3 separate regions of the Homo sapiens genome follow, and regions 1 and 2 are each linked to region 3. The links are contacts of gene promoters, found by promoter capture Hi-C in blood cells and fetal thymus (Javierre and others, 2016). All regions are on one chromosome and are shown on one strand. Each heading gives the region's core, a stretch centred on a gene start or on the middle of the fragment in contact. The rest is flanking DNA. Distances are from core to core; before and after follow the strand shown.

Region 1 (3,723 bases), core at 623-3,122, 560 kb after region 3:
AACATTGAGGTGGAATACATATCGAGGCCCTGAGACAGGAAAAAGCTTGGCAGGATCTAAGAACCAAGCATTTTGGTGCTCCAGGGCCCTGTGGGCTCTGTAAGAAGGTGGGGTTTTGTTCCAAATTCAGTGGAAGGCAATACAGGGATTTAAAGCGGGGTAATGACAGGATCTGATTTCCACTCTGTCCGAATTTGGGGCGGTCTGTGTAATGGCGAAGAGACCATTTAAGGATCTATTGTAGAGGTCCAGGGAGCAGCAAATGATGGCTTTGACTCGTGTGGGGCAGTGTAATTGGGGAGAAAAGGGGAGGGATGAGTTGAGATAGATTTGGAGGTGGATTTGATAGAAAGTGGATTGGATGTGGTGGAGTAAATATAAGAAGGAAATGTCGAGAATGATGAAAAGTGTCTGGTTTGATGAACCGTGTTCATGATGATGCCACTTTACAGAGTGAGGAAAATTGGGAAAGGAATAGATGTGGAAAGAAGGATTGAGAATTCAGTTTTAGGCAGAAAACTTTTTGGTGCCTGTGAAGCAGCCAAGTGGAGATGCCAGCTAAGCATTGGTTAGGGGGATCTGAAAGTGAGAAGAACCAAAGTGGCATGGGAACAAATCAAGGGAAAAATCCGTATTCTGGGACCAAATGCAGTGTTTACAGTTTCCTGCAACGTGGATTTCATTTGCCAGTGCCCTTCCTGACTGAATTTACTACATTTACTTCATAAAGCAGCGTGGTGAATTTTTTTTAGACGAGGCATTTACACTTCATTTAAAAGGTGCATTGTCATGAGCTATCTTCTAAAAAAGGAAATAATATTTTTACTGATATCATTTTAATATTTTATCAGTGGTTCTTACCCTTTCTTATAATACAGACCTGTTTGAAAATTTCACAAATACTATAAACCCAAAAAGGAAAAAAATGCACATTGACACCTGTATTAAGGAAGTATAAAGTTTATAAATTTCTGGTACAATTTACTGTAGTGTTAGAGCTAGTGATCGTATTTTTTTCCATTTCCTTATTGTAGCAATTAGGAGGACACTCATGTCGAGAGAGGTAAAGTGGTTGTGTATAATAACACAGGTAGTTAGTGGCTGTGACTAGAACCCAAGCTTTGAGCTTGAAATAGTGATGTTACAGGCCAGCTAGAATCATTAAAGATAAACTTCTCTCAAGCAGCATACCAAGTGTTTGCAGGATGGGTGGGAAGAAAGAAGAGCATGTGACTGATTATAGGGAAAAGGACACATTTGAGTTAAATTTTGTTAAGGATTAACATTAATTTGTCAGATTTCAGTCAACAAGAAGAACCGGCTCCTAGGTTTTTATTAGCACCCATCCCAGTACTTGGCAGGAGGTTTTCGCTCGACAGATCATAGCTCTCCTACTGCTCCTAGCTTTGTTGGGAATGTTTGTGTATTTTTTCAAGGCAAGTAGACAGGGCTGCTAAATTACCTTAATCTTGAAACAACTGGATGCCACCGCAGCTTTCCTTAATTTGCCCTCGTTGCTGCCTGAAGTTGCTCTAAGTGAATATTTACCTAACAATGTGATAGAAAGGTAGTGCTCCTGTTTCTTTCCTAGTGGTGCTTTTCCTGTATTGTCAACTCAGCACATCTTTCCAGGGCCTTTCTTGGAGCTACTTGGACTCACTACACTCTGGGTTAATAGGTCTCTTCACTGTCTTTCAGTTTTGGGAAATTTTTAGCCTCTGAATTTTCAGGGTGTTCAAATGAGATTTCAGTTTGGTGTTAAAGATTGTTAAGTTTTAGACCTTTTAGTATCCACGTAAAATTGACATCAAATGAAAATTGACATGGTATACAATTTATGAAATTAAAAAAAAAAAACTTTAAACCTTTATAGTCTATCTGCACATCCCAGATTATTTGTTAAAATGAAGATTTAAAATAATAATAACAAATTATTTTTTAAAATAGAGAAACCCAGTCTCTACAAAAAATACAAAAATTAGCCAAGCATGGTGGCACTCGCCTGTAGTCCCAGCTACTCGGGAGGCTGTGGTGGAGGATTGCTTGAGCCCAGGAGGTTGAGGCTGCAGTGAGCCAAGATCACACTACCGCACTTCAGCCTGGGTGACAGAGTGAAACCCTGCCTCCAAACAAACAAACAAAAAAAACCCAAACCAAAAATATATGATTGAGAACATTTTCTCTGTTCAAAATAATTGTTTTAGTTCAGTTAAGGTCTTACTTGAGCTAACCTTTACAGTCTGGGAGCATCAAATAAGAAGTAATATAGGTAAAGGGGAGGTTTTTTTTTGTTTTTATTTTCCCATGCACACCCTTTCCTTTGTAGATATTGCATATTTCACTACTAGCACTGCCCTATCAAATGCTTTCTTAGAATATGAGACATAGGGGAGAAGTTCATAAAAGGAACTTTGTAGAGAGACAAATGAAATTAGGCTCTATTGTTTCTGAGAAGTGAGGGGTCATTTCCATGTGTGCAATATGTCATTTTTATTTCTGGATGCTTTATATATTTTTGTTATCTTTGGATTTCAAAAGTTTGACAATGATGTGCCAAGCTGCAGGAGAACGGGGTGTGGAGTGTTACGTGTGGTGTTTATTAGAGTTGAGGTTTACCAAGCTTTAATATACAAATTTATGTTTTTTATCAAATTTGGAAATTTCTTCTTTATTATTTCTGCAAATGTTTTTTTAAATCCATTCTCTGTCCTCTCCTATGACTGTAACTTGTTAGTCCTTGAGGTTCTGCCCGTGTTTTTTTACTATCCGACTTTAAAGAAAAAATTTACAAACTTTGTTTTTGAGCAGATTTAGGTTTTACAAAAAAATTGAGCAGAAAGTACGGAGTATTACCATGTGCTCCCTTGCCCGGTCCGTTTCCCCTATTATTAACATTTTGCATTAGTGTGGTACATTTGTTACAATTGATGAGCTAACATTGATATATTATTATTCACTGAAGTTCATATTTTGCATTCAAGTTCATTCATTGTATTGTATAGTTCTATGGGTTTTGACAAATGTGCAAATGACCGATGTCAGTATTATAGTGTCATGCAGATTAATTTCACCACCCTAAACATCATCTGTGATTCACTTATTTATCCCTGTCTCTGAACCCCTGGCAAGCACTGATCTTTTTACTGTCTCCATAGCTTTGCCTTTTCCAGATATCATGTAGTTGGAATCATACAGTATATGGCCTTTCCAGACTGGCTTCTTTCACTTAGCGACATGCATTTAAGATTCCTTCCTTTTATGGCTTGATAGCTCACTTCTTTTTATTGCTGAATAATATTCCATTGTATGGCTGCACCACAGTTTGTTTATCCATTCACCTGTTGAAGGACATTGTTGTGGGAAGTCAGGGACCCTGAATGGAGGGACCGGCTAGAGCTGTGGCAGAGGAACATAAATTGTGAAGATTTCATGGACATTTATCACTTCCCTAATAATACTCTTAACGCCTGTCTTACTTTAATCTCTTAATCCCGTTATCTTCGTAAGCTGAGGATGTACGTCACCTCAGGTCCACTGTGATGATTGTGTTAACTGTACAAATTGATTGTAAAACGTGTGTTTGAGCAATATGAAATCAGTGCACCTTGAACAGAATAACAGCGATTTTTAGGGAACAAGGGAAGATAACCATAAGGTCTTTACTGCCTGCGGGGTCGGGCAGTAGGAGCCATATTTTTCTTCTTGCAGAGAGCCTATAAACGG
Region 2 (3,545 bases), core at 181-2,680, 870 kb after region 3:
GGGATTACAGGCATGAGCCACTGCGTCCGGCCTGATTTTTCTATATATAAAATCATGTCATCTGTAAACAGGGACTATTTTACTTCCTTCTTTTCAAATTGAATGTCCTTTTTTCTTTCTTTTGCCTAATTGCTCTGGCTAGGACTTCCAGTATTATGTTGTAATTCAAGAAATATTTGTTGAGAACTTATCATAAACAAAAAAATTATTCTAGGCACTAGAGGAAAAAAAAACAGACAAGAACTATGTCTTCTGCCAGGCACAGTTGCTCATGCCTGTAATCCCAGCACTTTGGAAGGTCGAGGTGGGCGGATCACCTGAGCTCAGGAGTTCGAGACCAGCCTGGCCAAAATGGCGAAACCCCCTCTCTACTAAAAATACAAAAATTAGCCGTGGTGGCATGCGCCGGTAATCCCAGCTACTGGGGAACCTGAGGCAGGAGAATCATCGAAACCCGGGAGTCGGAGGTTGCAGTGGGCCAAGATCACGCCACTATACTCCAGCCTGGGCGACAGAGCAAGGCTCTGTCTCAGAAAAAAAAAAAAAAAAAAAAAAGAACCATGTCTTCATGAAGCTTACATTTTTTGAAAAGGAGATAGAAATTTAAGAAGAAAACTAATAAATGTGATAATTTCATTCAGTGAGATATGTTGTGAAGACAATAAAACAAGATTATGTCAGAGAGGAGCTCCATAGACTGAGTGTCAGGGAAGGAGTTAAGGCTTCAGTGACTGGAAGAAGCCAACACGTGAAGACCTAGTTGTAAATCATTGGAAGGAAGGGCAAAAGCAAAGGCATCAAGACAGGAATGAGTTGACTGTATCCCTGAAGCAGCAAGGAGCCAATGTGGCTGGAGCAAAGTCAGTGCAGAGGAAAAGTATAGGAAATGAGGGCCTGGAGCTAGATCAGCCTGCACAGCACAGTAAGCAGTTTGGACTTTATTGGGTGTGAAATGTGAAGTCTTTCAAGGGTTTTAACCTGGGAAGTGCTTTGGAGAGAAGTGGGGAGTGTTATATTATATAGTTTATATTTTTTAAAGATTACATTTTCTGGTTATAGTTATCATAGTTCTAGAAACTGTATTTTAGGACAACCAAATCACCCCAGTTAATAAGAGAAAGCTCTTTTTACAAAGAATGCCAAGCTATTCAGATTAAAGAAAAATAAAGAGACATGGCAACCAAACACAATGCCTTATTCTGAATTTGGCTCTTCGTCCAAAAAAAATTCTATAAAAGATATTGTTGGGAAAATTGGCGGCAATTAAATATGGTCTCTAGGTTAGATAATATTATTATAGTAAATGTTAAATTTTCTGATTCTAAAACTGATTATGAAAGAGAACAACCTGGCCAGGCACGGTGGCTCATGCCTGTAATCCCAACACTTTGGAAAGCCGAGACGGGCAGATCACCTGAGGTCAGGAGTTCAAGACCAACCTGGCCAACATAGTGAAACCCAGTCTGTACTAAAAATACAAAAATTAGCCAGGCGTGATGGTGGGCGACTGTAATCCCAGCTACTCAGGAGGCTGAGGCAGGAGAATCACTTGAACCCCGGAGGCAGAGGTTGCAGTGAGCCGAGATCGCGCCAATACACTCTAGCTTGGGTGACAGCAAGCCTCTGTCTCAAAAATAAAATAAAAAGAAACAACAACCAGATGTCATGTGGGACCTAGATTGGGTCTTGCTTTGTTTCTGGTTTTTTTGTGTGTGTGTGGCTGCTTTGGTTGGTTGGTTTGTTTGTTTGTTTGTTTGTTTGAGACAGAGCCTTGCTCTGTCACCCAGGCTGGAGTGTAGTGACATGATCTCAACTCACTGCAACCTCTGTCTCCCAGCTTCAAGCAATTCACATGCCTCAGCCTCCAGAGTAGCTGGGACTACAGGTGTGTGCCACCACACCCTGCTAATTTTTTCTATTTTTAGTAGAGACAGGGATTCACCATGTTGGCCAAGCTGGTTTCGAACTCCTGGCCTCAAGTGATCTGCCTGCCTCAGCTTCCCAAAGTGCTGGGATTACAGGTGTGAGTCAGTGTGCCTGGCGGGTCTTGCTTTGAACAAACCAACTGGAAAGGACATTTGGGGAACAACTGGGATAACTGAAATTGAGGTTAGGTATTAGAAGAGATGAAAATGTATCAACATGGTAAAATTGAGATTAACTGGAAAAAAATCTGATTATGAAATAGCATGTACAGTATAATTTCACCTGGTAAGTATATATGTATATACATACACACATGAAGTATATATCTCACACTATACTAGAAGGATATATTAAAGCTTAATCTTTTGGAAATATAAGGATTTTATTTTCTTAATCTGCTTACCTGCTATATCTGACTTTCTATAAAACACATATAAATAATCTTAAATTTTTGAATAATTTTAAAATTTTACTTATTATTTATTTATTTATTGAGATGGAGTCACTCTGTCACCCAGGCTGGAGTGCAATGGTGCGATCTTGGCTCACTGCAACATCTGCCTCCCGGGTTCAAGAGATTCTCCTGCCTCAGCCTCCCGAGTACCTGGGATTACAGGCACGCACCACCATGCCCGGCTAATTTTTTCTTTTCTTTTCTTTTTTCTTTTTCTTTTTTTTTTTTGAGACAGAGACTCGCTCTGTCACCCAGACTGGAGTGCAGTGGTGCGATCTCGGCTCACTGCAACCTCCGCCTCCCAGGTTCAAGCCATGCTCCTGCCTCAGCCTCCCAAGTAGCTGGGACTACAGGCGTGTGCCACCATGCCCGGCTAATTTTTTGTATTTTTAGTAGAGAGAGATGGGGTTTCACCGTGTTAGCCAAGATAATCTCCATCTCCTGACCTCGTGATCCACCTGCCTTGGCCTCCCAAAGTGCTGGGATTACAGGCGTAAGGCATCTTGCCTGGCAACTTTTTCTATTTTTAGTAAAGACAGGGTTTCACCATGTTGGCCGGGCTGATCTTAACTCCTGGCCTCAAGTGATCTGCCACCCCGGCCTCCCAAAGTGCTGGGGATACAAGCGTGAGCCACCGCACCTGGCCAATTTTAAATTTTTTAATAAATAAATTGCTCTGGCTGTTCTAGATGGATTACAGGGGCAATCAAGAGTGGAAGTAGGTTGTCTAGTTGATCAGCAATATGCTTTTCAGTATCTGTTTCCCAAGTCTAGGTGGAAGCCAGATTCTTGCTGGAAATGAAGCTTCTCCTTCATGGGAATCCCACATACATGGCCAAAGAGATCTTACGTCTGGGAGCACAAACTGGGTATGTTAAAGGGCTTGATATTCTCCAGGGTATTTTGTTGTCCAACAAAGCTGGGTAGAGATTTGCACAGGTCCACGGAGCTGCTCAGCAAAGGGAGGGTCTGGAGGAGTGCTATCCAGCAGACTAAAGGCAAGGCACCAGCCCTCTTTGAAGTTATACACTGGTCCAGCCAGGGAAATCACAAGCACACACACATACCCAACATCAGTTAATGACAAGATAAGAAAGAAAATGTACTTTTAAATTTGATCTTAAAACAATTCACAACTCTTAAAAATTATGCAGAATAAGCCAGG
Region 3 (3,756 bases), core at 546-3,045:
AAAAAAATTTTAAAAAGTTAAAAAAAAATAGAAAAAAAGCTCATAAAGATATAAAAATATTTTTGTACACCTGTACAATGTATTTGTTTTAAGCTATTAGAAAAGAATAAAAAAGCTAAGCCAAACTAAGAAGTTTATTAAGTAAAAAAGTTATAGTAAGCTAAGGTTAATGTATTATTGAAGAAAGTTTTTCATTTTTTATAAATTTAGTGTAGCATAAGTGTATAGTACTTATAAAGCCTACAGTAGTATACAGTGATGTCCTAGGCCCTCACAGTCACTGTCTCACCCACAGCAACTTCCAGTTCTGCAAGCTCCATCAATGGTAAGTGGCCTATACAGGTGTTCCATTTTTAATCTTTTACTGTATCTTTTCTATGTTTAGATACACAAATACTCACCATTGTGTTACACTTGCCTAAGGTATTCAGTACAGTCACATGCTATACGGGTTTGTTGCCTAGGAGCAATAGGCTATATAGCCTAGATATGTAGTAGGCTATACCATCTAGGTTTGTGTACATTTACGTACATTCTATGATGTGATGTTTGCACAACGACAAAATCATGTAACGCTTTTGTCAGAACACATCTCCATCATTAAGGAACGCATGACTGTATCTCTATTTAGCTGTAGAACCATGGATGCCACATAACCTTCAAATCTCACCATTGGCCTATGTGTCTCAGAAAAACATAAGTAAATAATTCTAATGAATATTCAGTTCATTGTTCAATGTACCTTACATTTTTAGTATCCTCCACAATATTCAAAATGACATTGGACTATTTAAAAAATCGTTATGCAAAAATCTAAAATTACCTAAGATGCAGTCACTTAACCAAGCAAAGATATCATTCAGAGTGGAATAATCAAAATGCATTTTGTATATACAAAGTCAGTGGAATCTGTTTTACTTACCACAGTTTCTTAATGATAAGGTTTTCTTAATATTGCCAATCTTTTCATTAACATGAGAGCATAATTGTTCCAGATCTGACGAGGCCATCCTTTAAGCCTCTGAAGAAAAAAACATAAACATATTCGTAACAAGAAAAGCCACACAAATTTCTGTTCACTTTCGAAATCCAAGAATGGTCAATGTCAAGTAAATCACATGTCTTTGAAGGTTAAGCACAAAAATTCAAGAGCAATTTCTTTCATTTCTACAACATTCAGTTTCTAACCACGGTACCGTACTGACTTGTCTTAGAGCCTTAGGCCATCGATGGATCCCAAACCAGGGGAAAGAGGATAAGCCTGGGTCCTTTCCTTAAGGATTCAGGAGGACAAACGCACTATTTGTATATAAAGACAACATTGGTATTTTCTTTAAACACGCAAAATAAGGACACATTTTTTAAAAATGTGTTACACTGTCAAAGAAATGGGCCCAGGTAATCATTTTTCCTGTGCTGTGAGGGGTTGGGGCTTTACAGTTTGGGATCGGTAAGGAGGCCGAGAAATGGGAAAGAACCAGTTTCCCACCCACTCCGCCGGTGAGAGAGAAGGGGAGGGTCTAAAGCATCCAACCCAGCCTCCAGCCCCGTCCTCCCCCAAGCCCGGCGCGGTCCGCGGCCCCCAGCTGCCAAGCAGCTACCTCGGGCGCTTCCAAAGGCAGGGTCCCCAACACACAGACTCCAACCTCAAGTCCGTCCGGGAGCAAAAGGCTACTCGCCGCTGGGTCTCCAGCTGCGGATACCGCAGTCTCCGTTGGAAGCCCAGGATGGTGAGACGGGACTCTGTAAGCAAAATTCAAACCGCCCGCCGCGCCCTAGCGCAGCGCAGGCGCACATCCATGCTTCCGAAGCGCAGGCTCAGCCGCTGTTCCCGGTTTGCGTCATCCGGGGCCACAGCTGGGCGGGAAGGAGGGGTGGCCGAGCCGGGGAAAGGCGGGGCGACGGCGAAGGCGGGGCTTCCGGACGAAAGGGTAACCCGGAGGTGCTCTTTCCGCGCTAACCAGTCTGGGGAGATTTCAGCAGGTCATGCAGTCTTGACCGCAGCCCAGCCAGGGACCTGGCGTCACCAAGTCCTGGTCTTTGACATTTGCTGCACCTTAGAGTCACCAGGGGCAGCTATTACAAGTCTCAGTGCCTAGAGTACACCCCAAGTCGGTGAAATCAGACACTGGGGAAATGAGGCACAAGCCTTAGTATTTATAAAAACACCCCAGAAAATTCCAAAGAGCAGCTAAGTTTGTGTGGAAGAAACAGTGACCCTGTCTTCTGGGTCTTAGACAGCCTCTGTAAGTGTTCCCGGGCCAAACCAGGGGTTGGGCTGCTTATTCTCATGATGAACTGGGAAAGAAGAGTTTATTTCGGTAACCGGGTACAGGGAAAAGGCCTGGAAAATATCGCCAAATCGATTCAAAATTACAAAGTTTTCCAGAGCTTATATACCTTCTAAACTATCTGTCTACATGTAAGTGTGCATGTGTGTAAAGACGTAAATGATTAACTGTTTCTAATCTATAACTAAGATCAGTCCTAAGGAAGGTCTTTATTTAAGTAAATTTACTTAATCTAGATGGCTGCAGGTGCCAGAGGTGATTACCCTTATCTTGTCTCCTGCTAAATCATGAAGGTTTGGGCAGTTCCTTCAGACCCCCGATAAACTTGTTTGTGGAGGTCTGGGGGAGTTTCTTCAGACCCCCAATAAAAACTTGTTTAATCTTGAACAGGTCCTGTTAAGAATTCCTTCTTTATTTTCTCATGCTTCAAGGACCAGGAAAGGCCTGGGCAAAACTCTTGGTGGGCTTTTGTTACATACCAGCCTTTCTATAAAGACACTGGCTCTTTCAGCTTTTAATATTTAACTTAACTAGTGCTGAAACAGTGGTTACGGAGGCCTGTCTGTTCAGCTGTTAGTGAGACCTGGCCTGCCACTTAAGAGCAAATATAAATTTAAAATAAGAAAAACAAAAGTTTAATTCTCCCTGTTGAAAAGGAGGGAAAAGCACCCAAGGCTGGAGTGGTGGCACCGCCAGGTTCTGTCCATCCCTTGGCTCCACTGCGCTATTATTATGCACTTGGACCTTCAGGCTGCCAGCCCCTGTCCTCAGGTCTTTCTCCCAGGCAGCAGAAACGAGCAAGAGGCATGTGTAATAGGCTTAACTGCCAACAGAACCAGCACTTTGAGAGCGTTGTGCTGGAAGCCACACCCAGTGGCTTCCATCTGCTTCTCACTGGTCACTCCCATCTGCGAAGGAGACTGAAAAAAATCTTTTGTAAAAAATGTAATCTGGACAGTTACTTTCACTCATGTCCGTATGAAGAGACCACCAAACTGGCCTTTGTGTGAGCAACAAGGCTGTTTATTTCACCTGAGTGCAGGCGGGCTGAGTCCGAAAAGACAGTCAGCTAAGGGAGATAGGGGTGGGGTCGTTTTATAAGATTTGGGTAGGTAAAGGAAAATTACAGTCAAAGGGGGTTGTTCTCTGGCAGGCAGGGGTGGGGGTCACCAGGTGCTCAGTGGGGGAGCTTTTGAGCCAGGATGAGCCAGGAGAAGGAATTTCACAAGGTAATGTCATCAGTTAAGGCAGGAACAGGCCATTTTCACTTCTTTTGAGATTCTTCAGTTACTTCAGGCCATCTGGATGTATACGTGCAGGTCACAGGGGATATGATGACTTAGCTTGGGCTCAGAGGCCTGACAGTTACATTGCATCCTCGAGACTTAAGTTTAGCCTAAAGTTGCCTCCATACATATTTTAAGTTGTGCCTAAAGTTTTCTCTGTAAGTCGCAAACTATAACCT

Evidence for each region. The method cuts DNA at HindIII sites, captures the fragments that hold promoters and counts their contacts. A CHiCAGO score of 5 or more calls a contact.
Region 1: a contact is called between a fragment that was not itself captured here and the fragment with the promoter of SKA1 in region 3, in 3 of 17 cell types (naive CD8 T cells, monocytes and total CD8 T cells). The highest score is 6.9, in naive CD8 T cells.
Region 2: a contact is called between a fragment that was not itself captured here and the fragment with the promoter of SKA1 in region 3, in 15 of 17 cell types (naive CD4 T cells, non-activated CD4 T cells, total CD4 T cells and 12 more). The highest score is 14.0, in naive CD4 T cells.

Annotation. Positions count from the first base shown.
Region 1 is chr18:49,809,109-49,812,831 of GRCh38, reverse strand. The region is part of intron 1 of ACAA2 (acetyl-CoA acyltransferase 2); the gene reads left to right. Among named protein-coding and RNA genes, the nearest start is that of ACAA2, 2.6 kb to the left of the region's middle. The HindIII fragment of the contact is 1,501 bases long and covers 1,122-2,622 here.
Region 2 is chr18:49,501,341-49,504,885 of GRCh38, reverse strand. All of the region lies in intron 2 of LINC02837 (long intergenic non-protein coding RNA 2837), which reads right to left. Among named protein-coding and RNA genes, the nearest start is that of LINC02837, 3.7 kb to the right of the region's middle. The HindIII fragment of the contact is 1,708 bases long and covers 577-2,284 here.
Region 3 is chr18:50,373,085-50,376,840 of GRCh38, reverse strand. SKA1 (spindle and kinetochore associated complex subunit 1) reads right to left here and starts at 1,795. Exons shown (of 7, transcript NM_145060.4): 1 at 1,647-1,795; 2 at 923-1,021. The coding sequence starts at 1,010. LOC105372114 (a long non-coding RNA gene) reads left to right here and starts at 1,963. Exons shown (of 3, transcript XR_935466.3): 1 at 1,963-2,246. RefSeq lists a silencer at 3,008-3,302. The HindIII fragment of the contact is 8,258 bases long and covers 1-3,756 here.